Linked DNA regions of Homo sapiens: region 1 is linked to region 2. The links are contacts of gene promoters, found by promoter capture Hi-C in human tissues and cell types (Jung and others, 2019). All regions are on one chromosome and are shown on one strand. The core of a region is centred on a gene start or on the middle of the fragment in contact, and the rest is flanking DNA. Distances in the headings are between cores, read along the strand shown. Region 1 has its middle 6.5 kb from the start of TAAR9. Region 2 holds the start of TAAR5 (trace amine associated receptor 5).

The links. The method cuts DNA at HindIII sites, captures the fragments that hold promoters and counts their contacts. A contact is called where the count stands out against the background at its distance.
Region 1: a contact is called between a fragment that was not itself captured here and the fragment with the promoter of TAAR5 in region 2, in 1 of the 25 tissues and cell types used here (psoas muscle).

What each region holds. Positions count from the first base shown.
Region 1 is chr6:132,542,788-132,546,795 of GRCh38, reverse strand. No RefSeq gene overlaps it. Among named protein-coding and RNA genes, the nearest start is that of TAAR9, 6.5 kb to the right of the region's middle. The HindIII fragment of the contact is 4,293 bases long and covers 1-3,403 here.
Region 2 is chr6:132,587,416-132,591,198 of GRCh38, reverse strand. It overlaps TAAR5 (trace amine associated receptor 5), which reads left to right and starts at 1,458. Exons shown (of 1, transcript NM_003967.3): 1 at 1,458-2,607. The coding sequence starts at 1,513. The coding sequence ends at 2,526. The HindIII fragment of the contact is 8,704 bases long and covers 1-3,783 here.

The sequences.
Region 1 (4,008 bases), core at 8-2,507, 44 kb after region 2:
GATGATGGACAGGTAAACCTTCAAGTCACCATGGAATGTGTGGACGTCTCCATACCCAGAGCCTGCCTCCTTCTGGAAAATAATTTATTCACAGGTAGGTTTGAGTCTATGCTCCCCAATCTTTTTCACTTTATTATATGTACCTTACAATAGGGTAAACCAGAGGGAATTTGGGGTATCAACATAAGACATCTTATGAAAGTCATACATTTGCTTTATATAACATAGTTAATGTAACTGACTAAGACAGTCAACCTTAATGTTCCCCTCAGCTTGACTAAACTTAAGACAGGCTTCTTCCTGACTTGAGGCTCCTGACCACCCTTTCTTAGAGCATTTACTTTAGAAAATTAGTATTTACGAATTCTTTCTCTGTGCTTTTGAGAGGTAAGTCTTTTTAAAAGCTTCTTGCTAGTTTTATAACCCAGGAATGTCTTTCTCAAGGTCCTGGGAGCCATCCCTTTGAAATGTAATTATCAAGAAAGATGATAACATCCTTATTTCCCAGTTCCTGTAGGAAGGTAGAAGTCTTAACTTCAAGGGATGCCTTGCTCCAAGCTGGAAAACTACCTCCTGTCATGAAGATATAAGAAAGTTCACTTTCCCTTTTGGTGGGGCCCATTAGCAAACACAAGTGGTCTACAACCTCCTCTCCCTTAACTTTCAAAAACTTTTCAGCCCTTTGTTTCAGTGAAGTTGAGCTCAGATGAGTTGAGTTCTGGCCTTTCTCCCCTGTAGCAATTGTCTGCAGTAAAGTCTTCCTTGTCTTTAACTTTGTCTGGTGCAATTTTTTGCTTTGAAATAGTAAAAATATAGTATAGCGTTTATCGGTTGACTATTGCATGTAACAAACAACCACAAATTCTCACTCATATATGACATTAAACATTTATTTCTCACATATCTGCGTTTGAGCTGAGTTGACTCTACTTCAGGCTATGGCAACTGGGGACAGGGAGGACTTGGCTCTGGTTAATGCTGTAGCAAGGCTTACGTATCTCTCATCCTCCTTGGATCTGCTGGCTACCTGAGCATGTTCTCATAGCAATGGCAGAGGTTCAAGAGAGCAAACGGAAATAGGATATCATAAGGCCTAGGCTCAGAATTTGCACACTGTCTCTTCTGCTCTCACTCTGCCTCACATGGGCAGAACTGCAAAATTATATAACAAAGGGTGTGAATACAGGGAGAAATGAATAATTCAAAAATTAACTCAACTACAAAAAGTGTTAAGAAATATCCCTTTCTTAGCATGATGTGGAAAAACAGCAAATGATGGAGGTTGCTCATTCCACCTGGCACCTACGGAAAAAGCATCACACTGTCAGACCTTGCTCAATGTGGGCAACCATCAGAAGAGACTCAGTAGCCAGAGTGTACTAGCCCAAGAGCACTGACCATCCTGGGCCCAGTCTGATTGTCCTGAGTACTGAGTGGATTAGTTTCTCCAGGACTTCGTGTAATCCATTTGCAACACATCATTATGGCATTGGTTCAGAAACCCTGATTTAGGTAATAGCGTGATGTCCATCAGATATTTACCAACATTTTCAGTAAGTTTTATGTGTTATTAACCAAAACCTGTTGTCTATCTTGATATGATATCTTGATATGATATCTCAAATGATGTTCTCATAATGTAGTGTGTCTTTATGGCAGACCCAGAGAGTGACACTGTTTAGATCCCTCTTCAACAAAGGAGTCTGGACCACTTGGGCATCCTATTTTAGATACCATTGATTTATTACATTGATAACATTATGCTGATCATGCAGGATAAGCAATTTGTAAATAGCACACTAGAGGCCTTGGAAAGATACATGCTTCTTAGAAGTTTGGAGATAGCCTCTATGCAGATTGAGGGGCTCTCTACTTCATTATAGTGGTCAGAGATGTCCCATCCAAAGTTAAAGACAAATGATTACATCCAGTACTCTCTACAGCTAAAAAAGGAAGCACAATGCTTGGTTTACCGCTTTAGGATCTTGAGAAAATATATTCCATGCTTAGGAATACCACTCTGGTGCATACACTGGATAATACTAAATTCTTCCAGCTCTCGGTGGGGCCTGGAGCAGAAGATGGCTCTACAGTGGGTCTAAGCTATAGAATAACTGTCACAATTTGACGACCTTGCAGTGATGAAGGTATTAGTAGTGGAAAAAGAGGCAGTGTATTTTTTATGGGAGGCTCCACTGAGAGAAACACAGTGCAGTCCTCTGGGAGTCTAGAGTAAGGAAGATAAATACCTTTTGAAAGATAGCTCTTGGTGAGCTACTGAGCCCAGGAAGTGATGGAACGCTTGACCATGTGACATCAAGCTATCATGTGTCTGTAACTGCCTATTATGAGTTAGGTCTTGTTGGATCCTCCAATGGAAATGATGCATGTAGGACCAAACACAAGCAAGGCCAGTGGGAACATGTGAGCAACATGAGCCCAGAGCCCATTACCTACCGCCTTTGCAGCAGTACCCCCTCCATTTCACACTTCAGGAAACTAAAGAGGAGAAAAACACAAGCTTGGTTTACAGATGGGCTGTCTCAGTATGTGGGTGGAAGCCAAAAACGGACAGCAGATGCATTATAAACTCCCTTAGCCTTAGATGACAGAAGAGAGGAAAACAAACTCCCTAATAGATGAAGCTTTGGTTTTGCCTAATTGGTCTTAATTGAGCAACACCAGAAAGTTGTCCCATTTAAATAACTCCTCCCTTCCTAAAACTTCACCCTTGTTACTTTCTTCTTTTTACAAACTGTTACTCTTTGAACATCTCTTAAAATTTCTCTTGTACCTTTATCCACTACCAACCTAAAAGGGAACCCCTCTGAGAATGGTATGTTTTATTGTTAATGCTCCCATATGAAGAATTTAATTCATTTGGCAAGTAGTTATTGTTTAACAGCTCATATTACTGATGGGAAAGGACGCAGCACAAACAGCTTGAACACAGCCTGAAATGTCAGAGTGTTCCTAGGTGAGGGGAGAAAGTAGAGACAGGGTAGCTGGGGGACTCCCCAGGGAATTTTGCCTGTTTTATAAATTTAACAAGGATGAATTAGTACAGGGACCTTATATATTCTTATCTTTGAAGTGATCTGTGATGCTTAGCTTAGTATTGCCCTTAGGAAATAATGAAACTTGCCCTTTGGCATTAGACGTGTGTGTGTGTGTGTGTGTGTGTGTGTGTGTGTTTGAACAGAATAAAATAAGAATAAAATATAAATGTCAGCTCTTATGTTACACCTGGGAAGATAGTCTATAATTTTTCATTTCCAAGAAATGTCGTTGCTTTTTCCAACTGATTCACAATGATAGTATTTGCAAAGCATTGGCTTTGATGATAGACAGACATGGATCTAAATATCCCAGCTCCAGCATTTACAACATATAATCTCTCTGGAGCTTTTTTCTTCATTAATAGTTCCTATAATTAATATTAATAATAAGAAAAGAAAATCAAAATGCTAATTCTAAAAACACACAAAATACAAAGGCAATGCAAGCTGTTTATAAAAATATCATTTTATTTGTGTAGGTGTATGTAATCTTTAAACTGTTTATTTGGATTTTCACTATCTCTAACTCTTAGGAAAGTTTACAGTAATTTCTTCTCTATGAAAAATTTACTTTTGAGCTCATGTTGTGAGTTCAAATCGGTTAAGTGGCTCTTTCAACAGAACTCTGGAGCTCTTCCTGAGCTCTAATTTCTAATAAAAAAAATACTTTTCCAACATTGCTTTTTTGGTTAACAGTCTTGATTGTATGATTTCAGAAAATAAATCTTAAAAATATAAGTTTTGAAACTATTTCAAAAAATCCTTATAAATTTCTTTCTGTTAAAACATTTACAAAACATAACACAAACAATTTTTATGTGATAGTGGTTTCCTTATTGGCTCTTTGGTCTCCAAAATCTGCAGATGTGTTTTACATAATGGTCATTAATACATAAAACCTCAATAAGAAAGTTCCATAATCATATCCATTTTATAGGTAAGCAGCTAT
Region 2 (3,783 bases), core at 209-2,708:
TGAAATCAAGTTACACAGGTATAATTGTACCTACTCTTACCAATGGGGAAGCAGAGAGAGAGGTTAGGTATGGCATAAGAAAGGATGAAACAGGAATTTAACTATTCTTCCTCCAGGTGAACTGCTTCATCTACCATGCTTTCTTTCACCATCACAAAATATAGTGCTCAAAAAACACATAATGATGAATCCTGTGTGGAAGTCACAAACCACCCCTTCATGAACCAAAAAACCCATGATCAATTATTCTCAACTATTTCTCATGTTGAGAGAAATATACACAAATAATACTAAAGCAGAAGAAAAATAAGAAACTCACTAAAAATGAAATTAGAAAATATATAGCAGCCATTAGCAGGCAAGAATACCTTCAAAACATCCCAGAACTGAAAAATTAAAAAAGAATATATACATCCACCGTCTTTAAATTTTATCTCTAATTAATTGTCAGGGTAAGTGATTCTGTATTGAGGAGGAACCTTAAACAACTGAGACTTGCAAATAGTGCAAACTAGGTCCCATGGTGCCTCTTCACAGCTTATTTGTATCATAGCACATGGAGGAGTAGTTTCTATTGAGAGTATAAAATCGTTAACTAATTGCACACCTGTCATTGTGGCCAACAGAAGAGTACTCTGACATTCCCTGTGTCCACCTGCTCCAAGAAACATTTTTTCCCAGGAAGGGATTCTGATTCCTACCTGTGTAAGTAACTTAGAAACTCTGAATTCAATATATTAGGACTTGGTTAATAATTCACAGACTTACATTAAGATGTTAAATAGATAAAATCATTTTGCCTATCAAATAGTTATACCAAGATGTGTAAACACTTTGTGTTATCATCATAAAATGTGCAGCATTTAAAGCTAAAATAGAGCAATTTTCTACTCTTTTAATTATTAATATTTGCATGCTGAATTCTTCTCTTGGGAAGAGTTGGCATGTAGCTAAAAATCTTAATCTGCTAACTTTATTGTCAATGTATGTAATTCTTAAAGAGAGAAGCTAGAAGTTACACTTTTTCCAAGGAATAATTTATTAACAAGAATTAATTGGTCACTTGGTTCAGATCTTTGCTTTAAATTTCACTTTACATTTGACAAAAAATACCTTATCAAAACGTAAGAGACATTCTCTATTATTTAATACTACCTATGGATATAATCAAGCTTTCTTTGAGGAAACATTCAGCTTACATCCTTCTTTTCTTTCTTTAAGAATACTACCTACACTAGTTTTAAAGTGCCTAGTCATATAAACTAGAGCTAGCAGAAGTAACTCTCATGAAACCTTGAATACTATGCTGCATTTGATTTTCAGGGCACATTTGATTCAGTACCCAGGGGCACTGTACTATGTTCCAAACTGTACTTTAGTTTCTTCCTCTTCGTTTCACTCTGTGATTATTTAGCAGACATATTTTTTTTTTTTTTTTTTTTTTTTTTTTTTTTTTGCCCTCCAGTGGAGAAGGTGGCCAGTTCTCAGACAGAGGAAGAGTAGAAATCATAAATGAGAGCTGTCTTCATCCAAGGTGCTGAAGAGCACCCTGCGGCATTCTGCTACCAGGTGAATGGGTCTTGCCCCAGGACAGTACATACTCTGGGCATCCAGTTGGTCATCTACCTGGCCTGTGCAGCAGGCATGCTGATTATCGTGCTAGGGAATGTATTTGTGGCATTTGCTGTGTCCTACTTCAAAGCGCTTCACACGCCCACCAACTTCCTGCTGCTCTCCCTGGCCCTGGCTGACATGTTTCTGGGTCTGCTGGTGCTGCCCCTCAGCACCATTCGCTCAGTGGAGAGCTGCTGGTTCTTCGGGGACTTCCTCTGCCGCCTGCACACCTACCTGGACACCCTCTTCTGCCTCACCTCCATCTTCCATCTCTGTTTCATTTCCATTGACCGCCACTGTGCCATCTGTGACCCCCTGCTCTATCCCTCCAAGTTCACAGTGAGGGTGGCTCTCAGGTACATCCTGGCAGGATGGGGGGTGCCCGCAGCATACACTTCGTTATTCCTCTACACAGATGTGGTAGAGACAAGGCTCAGCCAGTGGCTGGAAGAGATGCCTTGTGTGGGCAGTTGCCAGCTGCTGCTCAATAAATTTTGGGGCTGGTTAAACTTCCCTTTGTTCTTTGTCCCCTGCCTCATTATGATCAGCTTGTATGTGAAGATCTTTGTGGTTGCTACCAGACAGGCTCAGCAGATTACCACATTGAGCAAAAGCCTGGCTGGGGCTGCCAAGCATGAGAGAAAAGCTGCCAAGACCCTGGGCATTGCTGTGGGCATATACCTCTTGTGCTGGCTGCCCTTCACCATAGACACGATGGTCGACAGCCTCCTTCACTTTATCACACCCCCACTGGTCTTTGACATCTTTATCTGGTTTGCTTACTTCAACTCAGCCTGCAACCCCATCATCTATGTCTTTTCCTACCAGTGGTTTCGGAAGGCACTGAAACTCACACTGAGCCAGAAGGTCTTCTCACCGCAGACACGCACTGTTGATTTGTACCAAGAATGATTCCTTCTACTAAATGCAGGCAAGGAGTAGGACCTCACAGGAAAGATAAGTGGCACTGTGACCGTGGGCTGTGTGGTGTTGAGTTTGTGGGCATGCTTCCAGGACAGCATGGGTTAAGTAGAAGAGAAAGACAAGCTCCTTAACTTGGAAAGGGATAAAGCACTCCCCACATTCAATGTTTTATATATATGTATGTATATACACGTATATATATATATACGTATATATATATTTATTATACTTTAAGTTCTAGGGTACATGTGCACAACGTGCAGGTTTGTTACATACGTATGCATGTGCCATGTTGGTGCACTGCACCCATTAACGTCATTTACATTAGGTATATCTCCTAATGCTATCCCTCCCCCCTCCCCCCACCCCACAACAGGCCGCGGTGTGTGATGTTCCCCTTCCTGTGTCCAAGTGTTCTCATTGTTCAATTCCCACCTATGAGTAAGAACATGCGGTGTTTCGTTTTTTGTCCTTGCGATAGTTTGCTGAGAATGATGGTTTCCAGCTTCATCCATGTCCCTACAAAGGACATGATCTCATCCTTTTTTATGGCTGCATAGTATTCCATGGTGTATATGTGCCACATTTTCTTAATCCAGTCTGTCATTGTTGGACATTTGGGTTGGTTCCAAGTCTTTGCTCTTGTGAATAGTGCTGCAATAAACATACGTGTGCATGTGTCTTTGTAGCAGCATGATTTATATTCCTTTGGGTATATACCCAGTAATGGGATGGCTGAGTCAAATGGTATTTCTAGTTCTAGATCCCTGAGGAATCGCCACACTGACTTCCACAATGGTTGAACTAGTTTACAGTCCCACCAACAGTGTAAAAGTGTTATTTTTTATAGTACATTGGAGGAAAAGGAGAGCAAGAAATCATCTTAATATCCACTGGATAAGCCAGAACACTGTGCACATATTTGGTTCCTCATTCATTGCTTCCTTGAAACAACTAGGATGCAACAACGGAAGGAACAGAGCCCTGAGGTCTGGCTTTCTGAGTTCTCACACTGGTTCTGCCACACAGAGCAGCCAAGAGAGATTTCAGCAATCTTTGAATCCTCCCTCCTCCCACCACAGATGGGAGTTTCCTCATCTAAAATAAGGTGTTTGTAATATTTCCTTTCTACTGTGTTCTTAAGTGAAATATGGCATAATCTAACTTCAGGAAACCTAGTTTGAATCATAATTTCGCTTCATATTTCATAATCATAATCAATTGTTTAGAATGTCTCTTCCTCAA